Linked DNA regions of Homo sapiens: all the other regions are linked to region 3. The links are contacts of gene promoters, found by promoter capture Hi-C in human tissues and cell types (Jung and others, 2019). All regions are on one chromosome and are shown on one strand. Each heading gives the region's core, a stretch centred on a gene start or on the middle of the fragment in contact. The rest is flanking DNA. Distances are from core to core; before and after follow the strand shown. Region 1 overlaps CAMK2B (calcium/calmodulin dependent protein kinase II beta). Region 2 holds the start of PGAM2 (phosphoglycerate mutase 2). Region 3 holds the start of ZMIZ2 (zinc finger MIZ-type containing 2).

Region 1 (4,269 bases), core at 904-3,403, 530 kb before region 3:
GAGGGTGGGGTCTGCTGTGGGTTCAGAGGACTCCACCTCCTGGCTGGTTTACCTGCTGCTGCCCATTTTCTCTGGGTACTGCTGGCCAGAGGACTTTAGCCTACCCCTGAAGAGCCTGTCCATGTCATTTTCCTACTGCCATAGATACCCTAAGCCCAGGGCCCCTTGAGGCCCAGACTCAGCCTGCCCACTGGTGCCGGAGACGGAGTGGAGTGGGCCTGGATCCGAGGGATGCTACCTCTCCCTTTCCCACTTGAGGACCCTGGGGAGAGATGGGGGCGGGGAAAATGGAGGTATGAATTTGGGGTAAGAGGAAGTGAGATCTCCGCTTGCAGGTCAGCCCCTGCCTTGCAGGGCGGGCTGGCTTGACTCAGGCCCTGTGAGATAGAGGGCCCAGCCCAGCCCCACCCACAGATCCCCTGCTCCTGTTGTGTTCTGTTGTAAATCATTTGGCGAGACTGTATTTTAGTAACTGCTGCCTAACTTCCCTGTGTTCTATTTGAGAGGCGCCTGTCTGGATAAAGTTGTCTTGAAATTTCACAGTGGTCCTGTGCTTTCTTTGTGCTTCAGGGGAATCCTTTCTTCACCAAGCCCTTCCCCCGGGGGAGAGAGTGGCCTCATGCTGTGTGCCTGTGGGCCTGCCGCATGCAAGGGTCCAAGTTATCCTGACCAGCTCCTGTCCAGGAGAGGTAGCTGCAGGCCTGACTCCTTCACCTCCTTTCTATAGACCTTGCTAGCAGGAACTGTATTTTCTTTTTTGCTGTTAACCAGGTGAGGGAGCCCTGGAGTAGAAGAAGCCCTGTCATTGCTGAATCCTGTTGCCTGGTCTTAGCTGCAGCCAGGAGACCCACCCTAGGAAAGCTGCCTCATAGCTGCAGAGCCATGGGACAGGAGGCCCCATCCCCATCCTGATCCCGCTGTAGGCTTCCTGTCCCTCACCGCTGACCCCAGGGTCAATCTGAGACCACCTGGCATCCCACCAAGCACAGGTGGCAACTTTTCAGGAGCAGAGGGGGCTCCACAGGGTACCTGGAAGCTTCCTGGTTCCTGGAGGAGCCAAAGCTGACCCCTGCTTTGGTTGGGAGGTGAACCAGGGGTAAGTCAAATTCAAGTCTCACATCTGGTTTTGAGTTCAGGGAACCCTCTGAAGCCTCTGTAGCCTCCCAGGGAGGCGGGCCCAAGGCTGCTTTCAGCCTGTACTTCTGATCCTGGAAGGCAGAGACCTCTCTGACTGGCCCAGCAAGCAGCCTTGGGCAGTGCTCAGCTTTTCCTGTTCTGAGGACCTGCCAGACCTGGGTTGGGGTGGGATGGGGTAACCCTTAGGGTCATGTGGCCCAGGGAGCTTTGTTCAGAGGGTGCTATTTAAAAGTGATGAATGGGCCGGGTGCAGTGGCTCATGCCTGTAATCCCAGCACTTTGGGAGGCTGAGGTAGGCAGATCATTTGAGGTCGGGAGTTCGAGACCAGCCTGACCAACATGGTGAAACCCCATGTCTACTAAAATACAAAAGTTAGCTGGGCATGGTGGCGGGCACCTGTAATCTCAGCTACTCGGGAGGCTGAGGCAGGAGAATCACTTGAACCCAGGAGGGAGAAGTTGCAGTGAGCCAAGATCGCGCCACTGCACTCCAGCCTGGGCGACAGAGTGAGGCTCCCTCTCAAAAATATATAAAAATAAAAGCGATGAATGAAATGCCCGTCGGTGGTGTCCTTTTTGCCTGTAGCGCTTGGCCCAGTACAGGGTGGCTTAGCCCTGTGTGCTGTGCCCTAATACCTCATCAGAGTTGCTGCCCTGATGGCATCTGCAGAAGGGCCTCAGGAATAATGCATGTGAGGGCGCACGATCCGCAGTGCCTGCAGCCTTCCTGGGGGAGGCCTGGCCTGGAAAGCCTCCTCCGATTACAGCTGATAGGCAAGTGGAGCCCTAGATACCATGCTGGGGACAGACACTGCAGCACTCGTGGGCACTGGCCTAGATTCTTTGCACCTGGCTCTTGGGACCTGCCACCTGCCCACCCACACACCTGAGAGCACCTGTCCAGGTGCAGACCATGGGGAGCAAGAAGCTGACATCCAGGGCCACTCTGCCGCGTGAAGGTGCTCAGGGTGGAGGAGGAGACTGAGGGCTTTAGCCAGTTCTGGGGGATCCTTCAGGCTCCTTGCCCATAGTGGATAGGACTGAGAGTGTGTAGGGGCACTCGTCTTGTCAGAAGTTACTTGGACCCAAAATGCAGGTGTGTTTAGTGTCTGGGACTGTTTTGAAGCCCATCCTTCTGTTTAGGAAAGTGCCGTGGCACTGCCTGGGACACAGGTGTGGAGGGGAGCCAAGGGCAGGGCCACACTCTGAGCAGGTTGCCATGGAGACATGAGGGTGCATCAGGGGGCCCAGCGGGGGCCACGAGGGTGCGTCGGGGAGGGAGGAGGGCATTGAGGCTGAGAAGGGCCAGCATAGCACAGGCAGGTGCAGTTGCTTTCCCAGGCTGGGCCTGAGCGTGTGCCCCATGGGGCCAGGCAGCATAGGTGGTGGGTGGAGCCTGAGGACAGGAGAAACTTGGCAGGGGGTTACTCCTTACTCCAACCTAAGAGTTTGCGCTTAGCTTGGGCTGGAGATGCAGAGGGAAGGCCTCAGGGGTGCCTGTCTCCTTCACACCCAGGACGAAGTCCCCAAGCCTGGCCTGGCCCACAGGCCTGTAGCACCTGGCCAGTCTGGCCTGGTATCTGGCTTCCCTGTCTCCATTCCAGCTCTCTGTCCTGGATTCTGGGCTGGTTGTGTGGCCTCTGCTGGAGCCTCCTGGCCCCCATGGTGGCTGCCTACTGTATCACCTTGCGCCTTGCCTATGTCTGGTGCCCGAGGCTGATGTCCACACAGGCCTGCGTGCCATCTGTCTGCATAATCCACTGGGGTGGAGCCCGGCTCTGTGGTCACTGTGTGTCCTCAGCATCCAGAATAGCCAATACATGTAGCAGGGGCGGAAGGAAACAGCAGGACAGCCAGAGGTCTTGGTCCTGGGGCTCCTTCCTGCCCAGAGGCTGCCCTGGCCACATCCTTAGCGGCCACCGGGGGTGAATGGAGAGGTCAGGGGTGTTGGGGGCTGGGATCCAGTTTCAGTTCCAGCATTCAGGGTGGACAGCGCTGGGCCCAGAAGACTTCAGAGGACCAGAGGAAGAGGTGGAGACAGCTGGTAGAGCTATGATCTATGACTAGTGCCCTACCTGGGGTGAGCCGTTCACCCTAGAGGGGCTCAGGACTGTCAGGGCCAGCTCAGGGCTCCCATAGCACTACCTTTCATTGGAGGAGGGGCCCAAGTAGGGTCTTGGCCAGGGACCGGGCTTGAGTCTGTATTTTGGCGCAGGAGGTCGGCAGGATTCCAGCTAAAGCACCCAGCTGCACTTGAAGCAGTTTGTCCTGTTTTTCTTTTATTTGCAGTTTCCCGAGACAGAACAAAATAAGAATAATTTTTGTACACTTACAAGGCTCAGAAAGAAAAGACAATGAAACTCAGCAAAAAGAGAGAGGAGGGGAGGCCAGCCAGCACCGTGGGCAGCCGACCCCTTGCAGCGCTGGCCAGCGGCCGCCACCACCACACCGCGGACACCTAGCTAGCAGACCGGTGTGGCTTGCTCTTTAGGGGTCATGCAAAAGAATTATCCCCCAGAAAAAAAATCCCCAAATTATCCCAGACAGGCAGCTCCGTGGAGGTGACAAGGTGAGAGGGAGAGGAGGGGAGGAGGCCCCAGGACGCCAGGGTGGCCGGCTGCTGGGCCACGTGCTGTCCGTGGTGAGCCCTGCCGCTGTCCCATGGCCCAGGGAGCCACTGGTGCGGAGCCCGGCAGATGTTTACCCTGTGTTCATGGATGGGGACAGCTGTCCTGGGCACAGCGTGGACGGAAGATGGTGTCCACTCTGAGTGTTCATCGGTGGACAGTCCCCTTGGAGTTTAGGATCCTGTGTCCTGTTCCCCATTCTGTGCCCCTCCCTTGGCTTGATTTGTAGGGGAAGATAAAGAAAATCCTTGTTGAAAACAATGTGAATTGAAAGTGGGCAGGCACTGGGGCAGGAGCCCCTGACCCTCTGCAGTCAGGGCTTGTGACCACCCCCACCCAACCTGGCTTCAGACCCACCCTGCAGCCCCACCATGCTCGGGCTTGCCCTGTCCCCGAGCTCCCCCATGGTACACACCATCACAAGGGGCCGGGGACCCACCGCCTCGAACCCAGGCAGCCGACGCTCAGGAGCACAGGGCTAGACCCTGCCCTCCATCCGCTGGTG
Region 2 (4,211 bases), core at 359-2,858, 680 kb before region 3:
TTTGGAGCGGGCAGGCTTGGGGCTGGCTGGGTCTCCGGGGCCTGCCGGTCTGGGTGCTCTGGCCAACTGCCCAACGGCCCTAGGAGCAGGAGGTCTGGGGCACACCCTTCTAGCCTTTCCAGGACTCAACAAGCTTTAAGGTCATTCAGATGCTAATTTAGACTGCCCTTGTGTCAGAATACTAAGGTGGGAGGCGGAGCGGAGGTGCCAGTCACTCTGGGCGAGGCCTTACTGCGCCCATGCATCCCGGGCCCATTTGTCAGCCCTTGCTCTTCAGTGGGAGCCCAGCTGCAAGCCCAGAGTCTGGCCACTCCATAGTCCTGCACCCCTCTTTTGATTGGTCTTTCCTTTGCCCAGAGAGGGGCTCCAGAGGGAGATAGGTGGTGAAGCTCATGCAGGGATTCTGAGGACCTGATGGGGGAGGGCCCTGCGAGGGGTCCAAGCCTACATCAAGAGGAATTCAGTACCAGGGGGAGCTCCCCACCACCCCGGAAAAGGGAGAGGCCCAGAGATGGAGGTGGCTTGTCCAGGGCCCCACAGTAAGTTGGGATTTGGAGCCAGATGCTCTAAGCCCAGCCCTTCCGTTTCCTAGCTGGGTGTCCCTTGGCAGATGCCACCTTTGGAGCCTGCCCCACCTCGGGACACAGCGAGCTTCGAGTGCAGTCAGCCCCTGTGGAGTGTGTCCCAGTTACACAGAAATGGGGAAAATTTCACAAAACTAAAAAATGGCTTCTCAGCCCTCCTTTTTCAGTGAATGATGTGGAGCCCCACGCCTAGAAAGCCTGGTCCATGGGCGAGAGACTTTGCTGAGATGAGAAGCCAGCTGGGGCTGCTGCCCACCCACCCTGCCCAGGCTCCTGAAGGTGGCCTCACCTTCCAGGTGCTTGACAATGCCCCGCAGGCTGTTCCCGTGGGCTGCAATGAGCACTCGCTTGCCGGCCTTGATCTGGGGAACAATCTCCTCGTTCCAGAAGGGCAGGGCCCGGGCAATGGTGTCCTTGAGGCTCTCGCAGGTGGGGAGTTCCCCGGGCTTCAGGCCTGCGTACCGACGCTCCTGGGGGACACAGGCACGCTGCTTTCCCTCCCAAGCCAGTGGGCCCCCACCCGACTCCCCACTCTGCAGCTTCCCAGAGGCCTTCCCAGCAAAGGCAGCCCACCTTGCTAATGGAGTTGTAGTAGGGGTGCTTCTCGTCCATCGGGGGCGGCGGGATGTCGAAGGAGCGCCTCCAGATCTTCACCTGCTCCTCCCCGTGCTTGGCGGCCGTTTCTGCCTTGTTGAGGCCTGTGAGGCCCCCGTAATGCCGCTCATTGAGGCGCCAAGTGCGCACCACAGGCAGCCACATCTGGTCCGTGCCGTCCAGGATGGCCCAGAGGGTGCGGATGGCCCGCTTCAGCACTGACGTGTAGCAGATGTCAAACTCCATCTTGGCATCCTTGATGGCCTTGGCTCCCCGCTTGGCCTCCTCGGTCCCCTTTTCACTCAGCTCTGCATCGAACCAGCCACAGAAACGGTTCTCCTGGTTCCATGTGCTCTCGCCGTGCCGGACCATCACGAGGCGGTGAGTGGCCATGGTGGCAGCAGGGACCACAGAGGACTCTGGACGGGGACGGCTGCTTCCCAACACTCCCAGCTTTATAATAGTGTCTTCCCAGCCCCCACCCACCCCAGCCAACTGCCAATCAGCATTCCAGGCGGTGGCAGGTGACCAGTAGCTGAGCTGCTGGGGGCTGGGGGCCAGGGGAGTGTGCAGGCCAAGAGGCTGTGCTTAAAATAGCCCCACGCATCCACCAGCTCCTGGCCTGGGTTCAGGTGGCATGTCTATAACCAGCTGGCACCCAGAGCCCAGACTGAGTGGGGCTGCTGGTCAGGGATGGGCGTGAAGGGCAGAAGTCTGGGCCAGGGGAGATGGGGATAGCAGGGACAGAGGGGCTCTCCAGGGCAACGCTCAGTGGCCTATCAGCCATTCTCTGCTCAGACAGAGGCACAAACAAAATCCCAACCCCTTTCTCCTGTGATTGGCAGCCAGGCTAGGAGGCGGCCCTCAGCAGGCAGAGGAGGAGAGCCAGAGGAGCTGGTGCAGACCACAGCTTTGTGGAGAGGAGTCTGGCCTTGTGGAAGGTACCAGGCAGCAGCAGCAGAATGGGCAAGGGCTGGGGCTGAGCCGGGTTTCCAGGACAAAGGGGGAAAGGGCCCCTGTCTTTCCTCCGGGGTCCCTTTGTCAAGGTCTCATCCATACATGCCCCATGCTCCCACCCTATCTGCCCTCACCCAAGCCACGCTCACTCTCCTAGCCGAAACCACCTTGAAAAAGAGAAATCCAAGGGGGTTTGGGGGCAGGACTGAGGACTGTCAGAAGTCTTGATTGTTAGGTAAATGCTCAGCTTAGCAGGAACCCACAACGTAGGCTGAAGGGTGGCACGGAGTTGAGTCTAGGACCAAGACTTCTGCATTCAGGTTTGGGGGATGAGAGCCACCAAGGCAGGGAAGAGACTATGAGCAATAAAGTCACAATTGGGGCCCTAATGAAGGGGCCATGGCCAGACCCTTGGGCATGGGCCCCATCCAGGGCCTCCCATTTCCTCCCACCCCAGTGACCACACTGTCACCTGCGACACTTCTGATAACAGGAGCGGGTAGGTGAGAGGCCAGCAGAGGGACCACCACTCTGAGACTTGGATCTGAGTGTGCAAGAAACCCTCGACAGGCCTCCCTCCATCCCTGCTGGCCTACCTGGGGAGGGGCTCCTGGCTTGGGGCCTGTGAAGCTAAGGCTCTGTACCCAAAGGTTGGCAGACAAGTCCCAGTGGGCAAAGTCCTGTCGGCTGCCAGGACCCCCAAGGCTGGCAGGTGGAACCCATCCCTCCTAGCAGTGCCATGCGCAGGTCTCACTGTTCCACACTGATCCTGATTGAAGCCACATCTCCTCATCTGCTTTTGTCCCTTTGACCAAGAGTTGATTCACTAGCCCAACTAAACATGACTGAGGACCAGGCTCTGGCAGTCCCACAGGGGCCAGACATGAAGCCCATATTTCAGTGGAGGAGGGATCGTACCAGCAGCTAAACATGCCTACCGTAGATAGCACCAGATGCTAGGAAGGAAGGACCATAATGTACTGGGAGAGATGGGAAAGGAGAGGCCGGGGACAGCCCTGAGGTGACATGTGAGTGGAAAGAGCGGAGTGCAAAGGCCTCAGCTATGATGAGTCCTACAGGGAGAGCAATTCAGGTAGAGGGGTTGGCAAAGACCCAAGCCCTACAGAAAGCAAACAAGCTGGGGCAGCGACCATCAGGGGCACATGGCAGAGAGGTGGGCTTTGTGTCCCAACACAGTGGGAATCACTGGAGACTTTGAAGCATGGTCATATTTTCAAGTCACTTGCAGCTGTGTAGGAGTGGAAGTAGAAGCTGAGTACCCTGCAGGTCTCGGCAGCTTTGATGAGAACAAGGCCGCTTAGCCAGGGCTGGGTGCAGAAGCAGTGGCAAGGATCCCCCAGACCTGGGAGACCTCACTGCCAACCAAGCAGGAGGTGTCAAAAAGGAAAGGGGAGCCCAAAGAAGGGCTGGACTTCGGGGAAGCAAGCCCCTGCTTCTGACCCTTGGCTCCGGCTTGACTTTCCTTTGATTCATTTGACAAGTAGTTGCTGGCCTCTGCAGTGTGCCAGAGCTTTCTTGGAGGGGTACAGGGGTAGGAAAACCAAAAGCCACCCTCAGGGCCTCCATCCAGGAAGGCATAGCATGGTGGGCGGCGAGGAAGGCTGCTGAGTCAACAAGGTGGTCCCAGGAAGGTGGAGGGAGCATCTTCCCATGTCTCTCCCACTGACAGCCACCAATCCTGGACAGATGCAGGAGCAGCTGTCAGTAGACAGATAAGAAAAGGAGATCAGATTCAAAGTTCCGCAGAGAAGTGGTGAGGTAACAAGTATTGCCTAGCCTGGACACACAGGCGGCTTGAAACCTCAAGTGCACCAACAGAAAGAGCTCCAGGAAGAATCAGAGGAGTGGGATGTGAAGCCCCTCGAAGTCAGTGAGTTGGGGGAATCCCTCCAATTTTTCTTTTCTTCTCTACCCCAGCTCCTGGGCAGTAACATGGAGGTGGCAGTGGTGGCACAGTGACGGTAGTGTGAGCTGGGTACGCACTTGAAACCTGAGAGGGTAACGCTACCCTCTGTCTAGAGGAGCCATGGCCCCAAAAGCATGGGGCAACCACCT
Region 3 (3,855 bases), core at 168-2,667:
CAGGAGGCTGAGGCAGGGGAATCGCTTGAACCTGGGAGGTGGAGGTTGCAGTGAGCCGAGATTGCACCACTGCACTCCAGCCTGGCGACAGAGTGAGACTCCGTCAAAAAAAAGAAGGGAAGGGAAGGGGAGGGAAGAAGGAAGGAAAGAAGGAAGGAAAGAAAGAAAGAAAGAAAGAGAGAGAGAAAGGAAAGAAAGAAAGAAAGAAAGAAAGAAAGAAAGAAAGAAAGAAAGAAAGAAATTCTGACACATGCCACAACATGGATGGAAGTGAGGACACTGTGCTAACTAAAGTAAGACTGTCACAAAAAGACATATAATGTATGATTCCACTTATACGATGTCCTTAGAGTAGTCTAATTTAGAGACGAATAGTGAATGCCAAAGGCTAGGAGGAGGAAAGAATGGGGAGCTAGTGTTTACTGGGTATGGAGTTTCCATTTGAGAAGATGAAAAAGTCCTGGAGACGGTTGGTGGTTGCACAAGAATGTGAATGTACTTGGTGCCACAGAACTACACTTGGAAACAGTTAAGATGGTAAGTTTTACGTTATGTGTATTTTACCACAATTAAGAAAAATTAATTATGGGTAGTTGAGAGAATGTGGTCTTCCTCAACTTACGGTAGGAAAAGTCAAGAATAACTTAAAGGCTGATAATAGCATTTCAAAGATCGAAACTGATCAGAGAGGCTATTCCATCAGGCTAGACTAGCTCAATAGTGACTTTTTCCAGAAGGAGAACCACTGGGAAGAGAGAACTGAGCAGTGAGGACAGCGAACTTGTTAAGTTTAGTTTTCTGCTTTAACGAGGGGCTTCCGGAGTCCTTTAATAAGATCCCCTCCCAAAAGTGGCACCCTGGGTCTCTCTGTCTCCCAGTCGTGTCCCCGCCCGCCGGGCCAGAGCAATGGACTCCCAGGAAGCAGGGGGGGCGCGGGCGGGGCGCGGGCGGGGCGGGTGGGGGAAGGGCAAGGACTCACTCTTCCTTTCCTCCTCCGCCGGGGCCCGCCCCGAGCCCTGGCCCCACCCCGGCTCTCTGGATCCGCCTCCTCCTCCCGACCCCGCCCCGGCACCTTGGCCCCGCCTTCCACTCGGCCCCGCCCCGGCGTCCTGGCCCCGCCTCCGCCGCCCGGCCCCGCCCCGCTCCCGGCGGACTGCGAGCAGGAAGAGCGCAGTGGCTCTGCCGACGCCGCGTTCAGAAAGGTGTGGAGGGGGCTGGGGGCGCAGGTCGCGATCAGGCTGCGTCTCCTGCCCGCCCAGCCACCTGCGGCCCTGGCCCCACCCTGCCGCTTTGGGCCGCTCGGGCTCGCGGCCGCCCCCGCCCCGAGCGCCGGCTCGGGGCTCTGCTGCTCTGGCCTGGGAGGCGGGGCCGGCTGCGCGGCGTCATGCATATGCATGAGCGGCGCGGCGGCGGCTCCATTGTGCCCTCGGAGCGGGCGGCGGCGCGATGGCGCGGGTGGCGGCGGCCCCGGGGCGGCGGGCGGCGCGGAGGGCGGGCTGAGCGCATGGAGCGGCGCGGGCCGGGGGCCGCCACGGCGAGGGGCCGGGCCAGGCCGGGCGGAGGTGAGCGGGGTCCTGGGGGTGGCCCCTGGCAACGCCGCCAGCAGGCAGGTGTGGGCCGGCGGGGGCAGGCAGGTGCGGCAGGTGCGGGCCGGCAGGTGCGGGCGGGCAGGCAGGTGTAGCTGGTCGCCCGGGGCGCCCCGGTTCCGCTGCGGCGCCACGGTAGGGTTCACAGCTGGGCTGGGGCTAGAGGCTCTGCCGCCCACCTGCCGGCACCTGCCACGCGTGCGTCGTGGTCTTGGGCAGGCTCGGCCCCGTGGGCGTCAGGGTCATCCAGCCCTCCCCTGAGTCTTTGTTGGAGGCTGGCCGAGGGGTGTAAGCGGCGCTCGGGGTTCTCCTGAGCGATGAAGGCTGGCCGGGCCTTCGCTCCAACCTGATCGTTCCTAGCTTTGGGGCCAGGCAGTCTCACCTACATGGTACGCCCCTCCGCTCCTACTTACGTGCCCACCAGCACGGCGATGTGGGGGCCGTCTGAGGCCGTCACCTGCTCGCGGAGGAGCTGTTCCGCTCCTGGGCTGAACGACGCTGAGCGGCCAGCCCCCAGCTGCCAGTTTTGATGGGGACACCCCTTTCCAAACTGGACATACTGAAGCTCAGGCGTGAGGATGCCCTGCTCCCCTGAGGTGCCTTGTCTTCCCTAGTGCCAGGTGTCCTTCACCGCGGCACCCCCACCCGGTGCCTTGTTTACCCCTCCACCTACCGTGTCTCTCCTCCCATTCCCTGGACCCTCTGCCCTGCAGTGTTCTGCCTCTCCTTCTCCCTAGGGTACCCTCTTTCCAGTATTACAGAACATCCATGGTGGTGTCTTTAATTTGTGTCATCGCAGATTTCACAGGGACACACACGGAACATGTGACTTGGTCTGAGACCGTGGTGATTACGGATAGGATGGACACAGACTCACCACCAAGTTCTGGCAAGCTAGAACCAGAGGGCATCCCTTGATGCTTAGTGTGGAAACAGGAGAAGTGAAGGAATCTTAACTTCCAGAGGTACTGACCTCTAGCCCTTGTCATGCCCAGGGGATAGTTACAAGCTGGAAGTGTAAATGAAGAGAACAAGCAGGTGACAGTTGCCGGTTGTAGATTTCTGAAGGACAGGCCTAAGATGTTTGGGGAGCATCCTGATTATTGGGATTGAGCTCCCAAGGGCTGATGACATGAAGGTGGTCATGTGTCCTCAGTCCTAGGATGCTACCAGATATCCATCTTACACATTGTAAACTGATGCCAGGTTAAGGTTGTCCCTTCAGCTGTTCACTGAAATGTCTCATGCCTGGGCCATTGCTTATTCCTGGACTTTTTGATGAACTCTGCATCCTGACTTAGCCCCACGCTTAGACATTTTAGTACTGTGGCCTTACAGGTAGAGGGGGCAGGACTTTCAGCTACCTGTATATGTGAGTACCCCACTTTTTGCTACCAAGGACCCCGCTCCTGCAACATTCCACAGCCATCATTTCTTCAATACCCTTTGACTCCATTGTCACCTGGGTTGGATCCTGACCCTGCAATCTTGGAGACAGTGAGTCCTGATGTGTGACCTATTGAGAAGCGTTGCCTGCCACAGGGCCCACTTGCTGGTCCTGCTCCTAGCTGACTAGGCAGGCAGAGAGGTGGCATGGAACAAGGCTCAGGAGGTCAACCAGGAGACTTGGGGGTGCAGCTACTCTGGGACATTTGGGGAAGAGAGGTCTGGGGTAGTGAGTTCTGTAACTCTGTCTAGAGGAAGATGTGATCTGACCCCCGAGAAAGCCTTGTGGCCCTCTAGACTGACCTTGTCCATCTCTCAAGGGGTCCTAGCTTCCAGCTGGAGTTAGTTTACAAGGAAAGCGCCAGGCACTAAGACCCTTGGTGGGCATGGGCCTTGCATGATCTGGGATCCAGATTCCAGGCTCCAGGCTTGTTCCCAACCCAGACTCAAAGCCAGGAGATGAGAAGAGGATCTGCACACACACAACGCAGAACACTATCCTATCATCAGGGGCACAGGGTCAAGGATACCAGACCTGGAGACTGGAAGTCTTTTCAGAGAGACTGTCCTCAGAGAGGAGACCAGAGGCATGAGTTCGGGTCGGCAGGAAATCCCCCTGTGCAGTGAAGAGTAAGCTCAGAGGGAACTGGAAATCTTTGTGGTCTCTGTCCACAGCAGAGAACCATCAGGGGTGGAATTCCCCAGGCTCATGTGACATAGGAGCCTGCTGTGGGCTCCTCCCCTCCTTGTACCTGCCCTGTGCTCCTTCTCCCCAGCTCACTGCATTTCCTAGATCTGAGGTTCTCAAACTACAGTTCCTGGA

What was found. The method cuts DNA at HindIII sites, captures the fragments that hold promoters and counts their contacts. A contact is called where the count stands out against the background at its distance.
Region 1: a contact is called between a fragment that was not itself captured here and the fragment with the promoter of ZMIZ2 in region 3, in 1 of the 25 tissues and cell types used here (dorsolateral prefrontal cortex).
Region 2: the fragment with the promoter of PGAM2 here is called in contact with the fragment with the promoter of ZMIZ2 in region 3 in 1 of the 25 tissues and cell types used here (dorsolateral prefrontal cortex).

The regions. Positions count from the first base shown.
Region 1 is chr7:44,213,755-44,218,023 of GRCh38, forward strand. CAMK2B (calcium/calmodulin dependent protein kinase II beta) reads right to left here. Exons shown (of 24, transcript NM_001220.5): 24 at 3,400-4,269. It overlaps YKT6 (YKT6 vesicular SNARE protein), which reads left to right. Exons shown (of 7, transcript NM_006555.4): 7 at 1-540. Among named protein-coding and RNA genes, the nearest start is that of YKT6, 15 kb to the left of the region's middle. RefSeq lists enhancers at 387-1,302, 3,712-4,259, 4,260-4,269. The HindIII fragment of the contact is 6,682 bases long and covers 1-4,269 here.
Region 2 is chr7:44,063,959-44,068,169 of GRCh38, forward strand. It overlaps PGAM2 (phosphoglycerate mutase 2), which reads right to left and starts at 1,609. Exons shown (of 3, transcript NM_000290.4): 1 at 1,158-1,609; 2 at 874-1,054. The coding sequence starts at 1,571. It overlaps DBNL (drebrin like), which reads left to right. Exons shown (of 13, transcript NM_001014436.3): 13 at 1-4,211. RefSeq lists enhancers at 192-301, 946-1,005, 1,196-1,245, 1,306-1,375 and a silencer at 2,556-2,625. The HindIII fragment of the contact is 10,392 bases long and covers 1-4,211 here.
Region 3 is chr7:44,747,430-44,751,284 of GRCh38, forward strand. It overlaps ZMIZ2 (zinc finger MIZ-type containing 2), which reads left to right and starts at 1,418. Exons shown (of 19, transcript NM_031449.4): 1 at 1,418-1,562. RefSeq lists silencers at 913-1,442, 1,553-1,662, 1,673-1,722 and an enhancer at 3,503-3,855. The HindIII fragment of the contact is 31,122 bases long and covers 1-3,855 here.